Linked DNA regions of Homo sapiens: all the other regions are linked to region 1. The links are contacts of gene promoters, found by promoter capture Hi-C in blood cells and fetal thymus (Javierre and others, 2016). All regions are on one chromosome and are shown on one strand. The core of a region is centred on a gene start or on the middle of the fragment in contact, and the rest is flanking DNA. Distances in the headings are between cores, read along the strand shown.

Region 1 (3,888 bases), core at 642-3,141:
CTACTAAAAATACAAAAATGAGCCAGGTATGGTTGTGGGCACCTGTAGTCCCAGCTACTCGGGAGGCTGAGGCAGGAGAATCGCCCCTCTACCTTTACTGCCTCCCTCTGTAGCCCAGATTAGGATAACTTCCCCAACCACCTGCTGGCTGTAGAGCAAGAGTTCAGGGAGAAAACCACAGGCAGAGGTGAGGGGTGCCATGGAGTTGCTGCAGAGACCAGCCAGGTCAGAGCTCAGGAGCATGAAAGAGGTAGTCAATGACAGACCACAACAAACAAAATAACAGCCTTTTTTTTTTTAAGTTAATGACTCAATAATTTTTTATGAGAAGGTGGGGATAAAGTTTCTTTCTCTTTCAGATCTTGGGTGGTGGACTAACCCAAGCCAAGAAGCCGGAGAATAGAGAGGAGGCAGGAGATGGAGACCTCAGGAGGAGGAAGAGGGGAGGGCCAGAGGGAAGGGTGAAGGCAGGGTGAGTGGAGGTAGTCAGGACAGGAGGAAGCTGGCAAAGACAAGGAAGCAGCCTTCAGGGCCTTCCCCGTGGGGCAGCTGCACACACAAGACTCTCTTTGATGCCTGGCAGGCTGATGGCACAATGGTGAGGATAATAGATGCAGGATGGAGCCAAGAGGGGTTGAGTGGCGCTGGGGATAAGAGAAGACCCTTGCCCCGGGCAGCCACAGGGAGTCTTCCTTGATGGGCACATGATCCCTCACTGATGGGAGCCAGGAAGACAGATACCCAATGCACCAAGGCCCAATTTTGCTCCCCTTCCCCCACTCTGGTTTGGAAACCCTGTATTCTACTTGCAATCTCAAGCCCAGACTTTATTCTTTTTCCTAGCCAATAAAAACTTCACCCCAGAGCTTTTATCCAAAGAGTATGAATATCTGGAATAAGAGGGCAATCTTAGGGAAGAAGTGACCCTGGCTGATGGGCCCACAGTCCCGGGTGCCCCTAAATGCTAAGAGACAGGTCCAAATACAAAGACGAGCATTTGGAGACACAGGAACACATACGTGCGCAGGCTTACACAAGCACATGCACAGCCACATAGCCACACACTACACATACACAAGCACTTATGCACATGTCCACACAGGCGTAGATACTCTAGCAAGCACATACTCACAGAGGCGCGCACACACACACACACACACACACAGGCGTAGATACTCTGGTAGGCACATACAGAGGCGCGCACACACACACACGCACAAATACACACAAGCACACTCACAGGCACATTCACACACGTGGAAATTCACACACAGGCACAGATACACACTCATGCAGGCACGTGCACGAGCAACACGCAGGTATACAGGAACACACACATGCCCAGACACACAAATCCACACACACCCAGGCACCCACTAAAGAGCACGAGCTGGTCAGGGGCAGCGGCTCACACCTGTGATCCCAGCACTTTGGGAGGCCGACACGGGTGGATCACCTGAGGTCAGGAGTTTGAGACCAGCCTGGCCAACATGGTGAAATCCCTTCTCTACTAAAAATACAAAATTGCTGGGCATGGTGGTGGGTGCCTGTAATCCCAGCTACTCGGGAGGATGAGGCAGGAGAATCACTTGAACCCAGGAGGCAGAGGTTGCAGTGAGCCGAGATCGCACCACTGCACTCCAGCCTGGGCAAGAGTGAGACCCTGTCTCTAAATAAATAAATAAATAAATAAAGCACAGGCTCCCACACATACACACTTAAACACATACACGCACACCCCATAATTCAAACACCAGTTGCCCTAGGCCACTTGAGAGTATCCTGGCCAGCTGCCCTGAGTAGTTTACTCTGGGCTACAGCCCGGGCCCTCCTCCTTCTCTGCCCCACCCCCAGCTGGTTGTATAAATTCCCTCCCTTCGCTCCTTCCCCGGAACAGCGGCCTCTGACACCAGCACAGCAAACCCGCCGGGATCAAAGTGTACCAGTCGGCAGCATGGGTAAGGAGAGGGGTTTCCAATCACCCATTGCCTGCTCTGTCTGCCCCTAATTTGGAAGGCCCTCCTCCAGAAAATGCTAGAAAACCTGAGTGGGGAGCTGGGGAGGGAGTAGTGGACTCTGCTTCATTGTCCCCAGTCTGCACACCCCCTCCCCCACCACCCCACTGCATTTCCCAGCTCAGCCAAACTTTCTGAGGAAGACGGGCAGAGGCACTGCTGGGAGATGGGATCCTGGGCCCTGACTTGGCTCCATCCAGCAGAGGCTGGGACCAGGGTGCCTTTCTGCAGCTGGGAAAATCAGATGGGCGCTCTTAGAAAACACCACTAGGTCCCTGGCCCTCACATAGTAGAGAGGTGATCCTGATTTCAGCCATGGGCCAACTTTGTACTCCAGCGAGGTAGGGAGTCCAAAGCCTTTCTGTGCCCAGGTCACTCTCTAGCTACTCCACACAGCAAAGCTCTCTGGGAGGGAAATCAGAGACCCCCACACTCTTTCACTGGGGACCTGTTTCAATGCCTCCCCCACCCCTAAATCCCCCTTGGCCCTGCTATTCCTCCATCTGTAGGCTTCTGGGTGACAGGCTAAGAAGGAACTGAGGTTTGGTTGGGAGGTCCTTCCCCGCTCGGGGCTGGCTCTTGAGCTGGCAGAATGCCGAGCTGGCAGAATGCCCAGCAGCCAGCCTGACATGGAAAACCCACTTGAGCTTTCCATGAGTCCATCCCAAACCCAAAGCTGCTCCGAGACCTTGCTTGAGATGTTTCAGATGGGGGTATTCCCCAGAAAGAGGAATGATGCTCCCTGGGGCTGCAGTGGCATGCCAGGCCTGACCCTAAGAAATGCTGGGGCTGGGGTTGCTGGGGTGTGGGGTGGGCCGAGGCTGCAGAGCGGGCAGCTCCATCTCTGCACTTTTACTTCCCTCTCAGCTTCTCCCTAGCTTTGTATTTTTTGTATCTCTGTCTTGAGGTCTTGGAGTTTTAAAATCTCCTTTCCCTTCTGTATCCAGCAACCTCCTTCCCCACCCCCTGTCATCTGGTGCCAAGCCCCGACTTAGCAAGATTGTGTAACAGAACCAGTCTCCTTAACTCCTGTGAACTGGACCTCTCTCTCTCTCCCTGCCCCACCTCCAGCCCTCTCGCTGGGCATCGAGCACTCCCTGGCATTCTCCTCTCCTCTGGCACAGCCCTTCCCATATTTACACAGTAATTCATTATTTTTTTTTTTTTTTAGTCAGAATTTCACTCTTGTTGCCCAGGCTGGAGTGACTGCAGTGGCGTGATTTCGGCTTACTGCAGCCTCCACCTCCCAGGTTCAAGTGATTCTCCTGCCTCAGCCTCCCAAGTAGCTGGGATTACAGGTGTATGCCTGTATTTTTTAATACAGGCTAATTTTTAATACAGGGTAATTTTTGTATTTTTAATAGAGACAGGGTTTTGCCATGTTAGTGAGGCTGGTCTCAAACTCCTGACCTTAGGTGATCTTTCCGCCTCAGCCTCCCAAAGTGCTGGGATTACAGGCATGAGCCACCGCACCCGGCCTAATTCATTTTTATGAAAGGCCTTTGGAATACATTGTCTTATTTGTCCTCCATATCTACCTAGCAAAGTAGGTAGAATATCATTATTGCCCACTTTTCGTAAATGAAGAGGAGAAAATGGAGAAACGGGGCGTCAAAACTGGGACTTGAAACCAGGTTTCCAGACTCTGAACGCTGTTGCTGCCTCTCAGCTTCCTAAGTCTCTTGGCTGCTGCGAGTGGGAGTCCCAGGCCCCAGTGGAGGCCCCACTCTGCCTACTCCTGGCTCCCCACTTGCGGCCCAGCTGTGAAGGCAGAGGCTGGACTGGCCACAGGACAAGGCAGGAGACAGGGCCCAGGCCTGTGGACTCCACTCCAGGGTTTCTTTCAGCCTGCCACCCCCTCTGGGTATTCTTT
Region 2 (3,888 bases), core at 858-3,357, 410 kb before region 1:
TGTGGAATAAGGAAATATAATGAGGAACATGTTAAAATTTGCTTGGCAGCAAAATGAAGATACAGTGTCAAAGAGAAACTCAGCACAAAAGCCTGTAAGAAGTCCACTGCTGTGGTCTAAATAAGATTTGAGCTTCTGAATCAGGCCAGATGCAGCATTGTTGATGTCATTAGCATATAGGTAGTAATTGAACCCACATATGTGGATGAAATGGTCTAAAGAGAGCAGAGTGACATTAACAATTGATGGCACAGGATGAGAAGCCCAAACTTGGAAGGACCCTCCAGGGAAATAAGAGGAAACCAAGAGAAAGAGGGCACAGAAACCAAGGAAAGAGTTTTGTGGAGGGAGTGGCCACCTTCCTGCTACCGCAGAGAGATGGGTGAGATAAGGCTCCATGCATGACCTGTAGGTTGATTATCTGGGAAGTTACAGTTTTGGCGATGGAGCAGGGAAGAACCCCATTTCACTGTTCGTTAAGGAGTAAATAAATAGAAACCAAAAGTAGAGACAGTAAATGAAGACTGTACTTCCAACAAAGATAAATAGTAAGGCCTTTACTAAGCCTGGAATGGCATTTCTTGCAGAGGCAGCAGCTTCTGGAAAGCCCTGGAGGCATAAAAGGACTTAGATAAGTAATTTTAAATAATTTAATATGAAATCTAAGTATATATATTTCAAATATTTGATTCATTTAATTTTTTTTGTCTTTTAAAACTGACTTGGGTGGGGAAAGTGAAGTATGCTTCTATTTAATTCTATGTGTACCTTAGCTAACTTTTAAAAAATACCCTGAGCCCTTTTTATATGAAATAAATTTTGAAATTGCTGAAGCTCTTGAAATTGGAAGGTAGGCAGTAGTAGTCTTTTCAGTAATAATGTGCTCCCATGCCTCTCTGCTATTCATAAAAGGATTGGATGAAACCTCCCTCTTTTCCCTGCTTTGCTTGTTTCAGGATATAAGTCAAAGAGTACAGCAGAAAATGTCTACTGAACGGACTTCTTGGACAAGCCTGTCCACCATTCAGAAAATAGCCCTGGGCCTTGGGATCCCAGCCAGTGCAACAGTTGCCTATATCCTATACCGCAGGTATAGGGAAAGCAGAGGTACGTGAACCCTATGACTGTGTGTGTGAAAATGTTCAGACATGCTCCTGCCTTGTTAAATTGAAAAAAACTCTTTCCTTGCCAGGTATTGTGTGTGTTTTGTTTTGGGGTTTTTTGTGGGGTTTTTTTGAGACAGGGTCTCACTCTGTCACCTAGCCTGGCGTACAGTGGCACAATCTTGGCTCACTGTAGTGTCGACCTCCTGGGCTCAAGCAATCCTCCCACCTCAGCCTCCAAGTAGCTGGGACCACAGGCCTGTATTTTTTGTAGAGATGGGGTTTTCCCATGTTGCCCAGGCTGGTCTTGAACTCCTGAGCTCAAGCAACCCACCTGCCTCGGCCTCCCAAAGTGCTAGGATTACAGGCATGTGCCTCCATGCCTGACCCAGGTATTTTAATTGACTTTCTGTGAGGAATCTTTGACTAAAATTATTTAGTCTTTTTTTTTTCTTTGAGACAGAGTCTCACTCTGTCGCCCACACTGGAGTGCAGTGGAGCAATCTCGGCTCACTGCAACCTCTGCCTCCCGAGTTCAAGCAGTTCTCCTGCCTCAGCCACCCTAGTAGCTGGGATTACAGGCGTGTGCCACCACTCCTGGCTAATGTTTGTATTTTTAGTAGAGACGGGGTTTCACCACCAGGGTGGCTGACCTCAAGTGATCCACCTGCCTCGGCCTCCCAAAGTGCTGAGATTACAGGCATGAGCCACTGCACCTGGCCTAGTCTTTGCTATGTTCTTACATAGCAAAGTAAGCTAGTCTATGAAATGAACTCATTTTATAACTCCATTGATGTGCTTTCTTCAGCAACATCAACACAGCAAAGAGTTCTTTTTTAATTTCTATACTCATCTTTTTTATATATTCCTTTTCTCTAATTAGTTGTTAGTAGAAGGCACTTACCTCAAAGGCTGGATCTAGAGAATAGGACCTAGAGAAATGACTTATGTACCTATCAGTCAGGAGAAGTTCTGAGCCTAATGGACCCCTCAGGTAACTTTTGGCCTTCATTCTTCTCCAGTAGTCATGTCTTGGGAGAAGTAGTTTGCCCAAACCCCAGCACCTGTTTATTGCAGAATCTGCTTTTCCCATTTTAGCATCTGAAACAGTGTCCCAGAGAAAATGCCCATCTCTGATCCTTTGGGACCTTCTAATTCCCATTCAGATGCCACTTTTCCTTGTTGTTATGGTTGAGATCCTCACTTTATCTCTTGGATCAGTGTCTCTTTGACAGCCAGATTCTGGGGAGGACTGGTAGTTATACTAGCTTTGGGTGTTATCTAAGTCTGATCTGATGAACAATGATCTGTGCAGAAGAGCGGCTGACATTTGTTGGGGAAGATGACATTGAGATAGAGATGCGGGTTCCCCAGGAGGCTGTGAAACTCATCATTGGCCGGCAAGGAGCCAATATTAAACAGGTAAGTGTGTGAGTAGGCAGTCTGCTTTCCCAAGGATTGATTCTGTTTATTGATTTCTTGTTTCCTTCCACTGACCCCATATCACAAAACATTCACATGCTCTGTGTGTGTGTGTATGTGTGTGTGTATATATAAAATATATATATATATATTTTTTTTTTTTGAGATGGAGTTTCGCTCTTGTTGTCCAGGCTGGAGTGCAATGGCACGATCTCGGCTCACTGCAACATCCGCCTCCTGGGTTCAAGTGATTCTCCTGCCTCAGCCTCCCGAGTAGCTGGGATTACAGGCACCCGCCACCACGCCCAGCGAATTTTTGGTATTTTTAGTGGAGACGAGGTTTCGTCATGTTGGCCAGGCTGATCTCGAACTCCTGACCTCAGGTGATCCGCCTGCCTCGGCCTCCCAGAGTGCTGGGATTACAGGTGTGAGCCACTGGGCCCAACCACTATGTATATTTTTAAAAGAACAAATAGAGGAACTTTTTAGCTAACTAAACTTTTTAGCTACTTCCCTTCTAGAGAAGAGTACTTCTCCCTAGAGAAAGGATGACTTAGCTTGAAATACGGGTTTTTGACTGGGTGATTGTCAGCATGGTATAACTTGAATTATCCTTTTTTTTTTTTTTTTTGAGACAGAGTCTGGCTCTGTCACCCAGGCTGGAATGCAGTGGCATGATCTTGGCTCACTGCAAGCTCCGCCTCCCATGTTCACATCATTCTCCTGCCTCAGCCTCCCAAGTAGCTGGGACTACAGGTGCCCGCCACCACTCCCAGCTAATTTTTTGTATTTTTTGTAGAGACAGGGTTTCACCATGTTAGCCAGGATGGTCTCGATCTCCTGACCTCGTGATCCAGCCGCCTTGGCTTCCCAAAGTGCTGGGATTAGAGGCGTGAGCCACCGCGCCTGGTCAAATTATCCTTTTCTACTATGGAATTAATGAACTCTCATTAATTGACAGTAAATATTGAATGGCTACCTGGTTCTTCTTACCATCTTCCATTGTTCAGCTGGAATGTCAAGAAAACAAAATATTTGATTCTCTAATCCAAATAAAATTAGTAAGGGGAAAGGATTCTAAACACAAAGATAAATGGGTTTGAATTTACTGCTATTTGGGGTTACATTTGTTACTAATCTCCTTCCATAAAGTGAGGACTGGTTGTATAGATAGTAACTGAGGTTGTATATAAAGTAATTGAGGACTGGTTGTATAGATAGTATTAGCTAATTCCTTTGGCTAATTCTATCTACCTCCAGGGTTTGTTTTAGAGTGTCTGTAGCTGGGCTCAAATGGGAGCTCTTCCAGAATGTACTGCCAAATGTCCTTTTCTTTGCAGCTGCGGAAACAGACAGGTGCTCG
Region 3 (3,888 bases), core at 978-3,477, 370 kb before region 1:
AAGATACCAAAAAGAACAGGAAATCAATGAGATTTATTTTTTAAAAATCAATGAACAAAATCAATAAAACAAGTAACTGTTTCTTTGGAAAAAAATTATTAAAATTGGCAGGCCACTAGCAAAACTGATGAAAAACAAAAAGATACAAATTACCAATATCAGGAATGAAACAACATATCACTACAAACATCAAAAGGATAAGGGAATACCATGGATCTATACACGTAAATTGACAGCTTAGACAAAATGGACCAAATCAAAAAACACAAATACCACAATGAACACAATATAAAATATATAATTTAAATAGCTCTGTAACTATTAAGGAAATTAAATTCATAATGTAAAACTTCTCCCACTCCCTAGGAAAGGAAATCTCCAGGCCCAGATAGTTTCACTAGAGAATTCTACCAAATGTCTAAAGAAGAATTAACACCAATTCTACGTAATAGAAATAGAGGAGGAAAGAACACTTCCTACTTCATTTTATGAAGCCAGTATTACCCTGAGGGGGAAAAAGACAAAACAGTATAAAATAAGTACAAACCAATATCTCTCATGAGTATAGATGCAAAAAGCATTAACAAAGTATCAGTAAATAGATCTCAGTAATGTATAAAAAGCATTACACACCATACCCATCTCATTCCAAAGATGCAAGGCTGGTTCAATATTAAAAAATCAATCAATGTAATCCATCCTATTAAAACTCTAAAGAAGAAAATCACAAAATAAAATCAAGTAATGCAGAAGACTCATTTGACAAAATAACACTCATTTGTGATTTAAAGAAAAAAACAACTCTCAGAAAAATAAGAATACAGAGAAACTTCCTTAACTTGACAGAGTACCTGTAAAAAGCTTACAGTTAACATTACACTTAATGGTGAAAGTCTGAATGTTTTTATATTCAACATAGTGCTGAGGTAGTACAAAGGTACTACCTCAATTCAATGAAAAGGTACTACCTCAATTCAATTTAAAAAAATCAATTCGCTGGAGGAAAGCTAGCCTTTTCAACAAATGATGTTGGAGCAACTGGACAGCCATAGGCAAAAAATGAAACTCGATCTAAGTCTAATACCTTCTATAAAAATTAGCTCAAAATGGCAAAAGACTTAAATGTAACTTGTAAAACTATAAAACTTATTTTTAAAACAGAAGAACACTTTCAAATTCTAGGATTAGACAAAGAGTTCTTAGACATGATACCAAAAGCACAATCCATGAAAAAAAAATTGAGATTTTGGACCTCTCAAAATTAAAAACTTTTGCCCTTGGAAAGCCCATGTGAAGAGGGTGAAAAGACAAGGTACTGGGAGAAAATATTTGCAAATTACATATCTAACAAAGGACCAGTATCTTCAGTATATTAAAAAAAAAAAAAAACCTCAAACTCAACAGTAAAAACAAAACAAAACAAAAAAACTGCCTGTAATTCCAGTAAAAAAAAAAAAAAAAACCCTCAAACTCAACAGTAAAAACAAAACAAAACAAAAAAACTGCCTGTAATTCCAGCACTTTGGGAGGCCAAGGTAGGAGGATCACTTGAAGCCAGGAGTTGGAGAACAGCCTGGATAACATAAGGAGACCCCATCTCTACCAAACATTTAAAAATTAGCCAGGTGTGGCCGTGCACACCTGTAGACCCAGCTACATAGGAGACTGAGACAAGAGGATCACTTGAGCCCAGGAGTTCCACGTTATAGTGAGCTATGATCGTGCCACTGTACTCCAGCCTGTGCAACAGAGTGAACCCCTATCAAAAAAACAAAACAAACAAACAAAAAACCCCACAAACAATCCACTTAGAAAATGGGCAAAAAACATGAATATACATTTCACCCAAAAGAATATTCAAGCATATGAAAAGATGTTCAACATGATTAGCTATCAGAGAAATGTAAATTAAAACTACAATGTGTTACTACACACCTATCAGAATGGCTGAAATAAAAAATAGCAACAGCACCAAATCCTGCTAAAAATGCAGATAAACTGGTCATACATTGCTGGTAGGAATGCAGAATGAGGTAGGAACTTTGAAAAAGAGTTTGGCAGTTCCTTACAAAGTTAAAACATGCACTTACCATTTAACACAGCAATCCTATTCCCAGATATTTACCAAAGAGAAATGAAAAGTTACTAATGATATGTGAAAGTTCATTGGAGTTTTATTCATGATAGTCCCCAAATGAAAACAATCCAAACATCCATCAACTGCTGCAAAAACAGTGGAATACTACCCAACAAGAGAGAGGAACAAATGATATGTACAACAGTGATAAACCTAAAAGTATAATGAAAGAAGTTGAACACAAAAGACTACATGCTATATGATTCCATTTATGTGAAATTCTTTAAAAAGCAAGACTATAGTGGCAATTTATCAGTGGTTGCTAGGGGCCAGAGCTGAGGATGGGAATTGACTGCAGAGGGTAATGAGCAGCGGTGTCCTGGGAAATGTTTAACAACTGGCTCTTGGTGGAGAGGGAGCCTGGTTTGTAGCATTTGCTGATTTCCATGGTGTAAATACCCCTCCATTGCCAATTTCAAATTACCGATGTGACATGACCGAACATTTAGTAGAGAAGAAAGGCTAGTTAACAGCTGAATCTCCCAAGGTGGCATAAGTGGGATCCAGCGCACCACTGTCCACAAGGAAATTTGGGGGCATGATGGAAATGTTGCATATCTTGTGTTAATGGCTGAACAACTGTACATATCTGTAAAACTCATTAAAGTATATATTTAAAATGGGTGAATTTTAATGTAGGTAAATTGTACCTCAGTAAAGATGAATTTTTTTTTAAGCTGAGCGGGTGCAGAAACAGTAAGGAATTGTAACTTTTTATCAGGGTGGCTGCCCTCCACCTCCTAATCATCCATCCTTAATTTCTTTTTGTTGTTGTTGTTGTTGTTTGTTTTTTAATGCATTGAACAACGTATTTGTTGAGTGCCATCTATCTTGTCCCCAGGAACCCATGCTCTATTAATGATCGCCAAATTTCTCTGCTGGTCAGACCCTGGCTACCTCTCCAACCTTTCTGCTCAGCACAATAATTCTGCTACTTTGACTCTGGCATCCTATTGTCCCTCTGCTACTAGTAAGCCCAGCTCTGTGACCGTATACCCTATGTCAGCCCTGGCCTACAGAGAACAGCCAACCCTGAGCTTCTCTTACCAGCACATTCTTCATCACTTCAAGAAATTGAGTATTCTTTCCACGCCCAGCCTCGCATGCCCACTCTTTTGAGCCTTTTAAAGAAAGTGAATATTCTTTGGGATGTCTGATGAAACATAAGCATTTGGTGAGTTTTCTGACTTTACATATTAATTCTAGCATACCCACTCTTTCTTTTTTAAATAGAGATGGGGTCTTATTATGTTGCCCAGGCTGTGCTTGAACTCCTGGGCTCAAGCAGTCCTCCTACCTCAGCCTCCCAAAGTGCTGGGATTACAGGCATGAGCCACCACACCCGGCCTAGCAGGCCCACTCTTTTGAGCCATTTAACACCTCTTCCACTATATGCCACAGCACTCCTCACACGCCTACTTCACTTAATGTGGGCCATGACTTTCTCCAAGCTTCCCAGAGCCATCCCACTGTAACCAAAACAGGTTCAGTTGCTTGCTGCTTACAGAGTCCAATTAACAAAAGCAAGGTCTGGTATAAAGAAAGCGACTTTTTATTCCAAAGCTAGCTTAGGGGAAGAAGGTATAGCCTCCGGCTTTTAGGGTACCACTTCACTCTTGGAGCAGAAAACAGGTGCTTTTAAAAGGGGACCTGGCATGCTGACATGAATGGCATGCAGGGGAAGAAGCAGGCAGCTGGGGTGCCTGCATACTCGCTTTGGTGCCTTGTCTACTGGGTGGCCGAGCTGGTGA

The links. The method cuts DNA at HindIII sites, captures the fragments that hold promoters and counts their contacts. A CHiCAGO score of 5 or more calls a contact.
Region 2: a contact is called between a fragment that was not itself captured here and the fragment with the promoter of SELENBP1 in region 1, in 2 of 17 cell types (M2 macrophages and erythroblasts). The highest score is 10.4, in M2 macrophages.
Region 3: a fragment that was not itself captured here is called in contact with the fragment with the promoter of SELENBP1 in region 1 in 2 of 17 cell types (M2 macrophages and M1 macrophages); the score reaches 8.2 in M2 macrophages.

The regions. Positions count from the first base shown.
Region 1 is chr1:151,370,708-151,374,595 of GRCh38, reverse strand. SELENBP1 (selenium binding protein 1) reads left to right here and starts at 1,891. Exons shown (of 12, transcript NM_003944.4): 1 at 1,891-1,958. The coding sequence starts at 1,955. RefSeq lists enhancers at 1,370-1,953, 1,954-2,537, 3,284-3,888. The HindIII fragment of the contact is 17,083 bases long and covers 1-3,888 here.
Region 2 is chr1:151,780,118-151,784,005 of GRCh38, reverse strand. TDRKH (tudor and KH domain containing) reads left to right here. Exons shown (of 13, transcript NM_001083965.2): 2 at 957-1,107; 3 at 2,419-2,525; 4 at 3,866-3,888. The coding sequence starts at 984. Among named protein-coding and RNA genes, the nearest start is that of TDRKH, 8.4 kb to the left of the region's middle. The HindIII fragment of the contact is 4,445 bases long and covers 1-3,888 here.
Region 3 is chr1:151,741,707-151,745,594 of GRCh38, reverse strand. No RefSeq gene overlaps it. Among named protein-coding and RNA genes, the nearest start is that of MRPL9, 20 kb to the left of the region's middle. The HindIII fragment of the contact is 2,727 bases long and covers 864-3,590 here.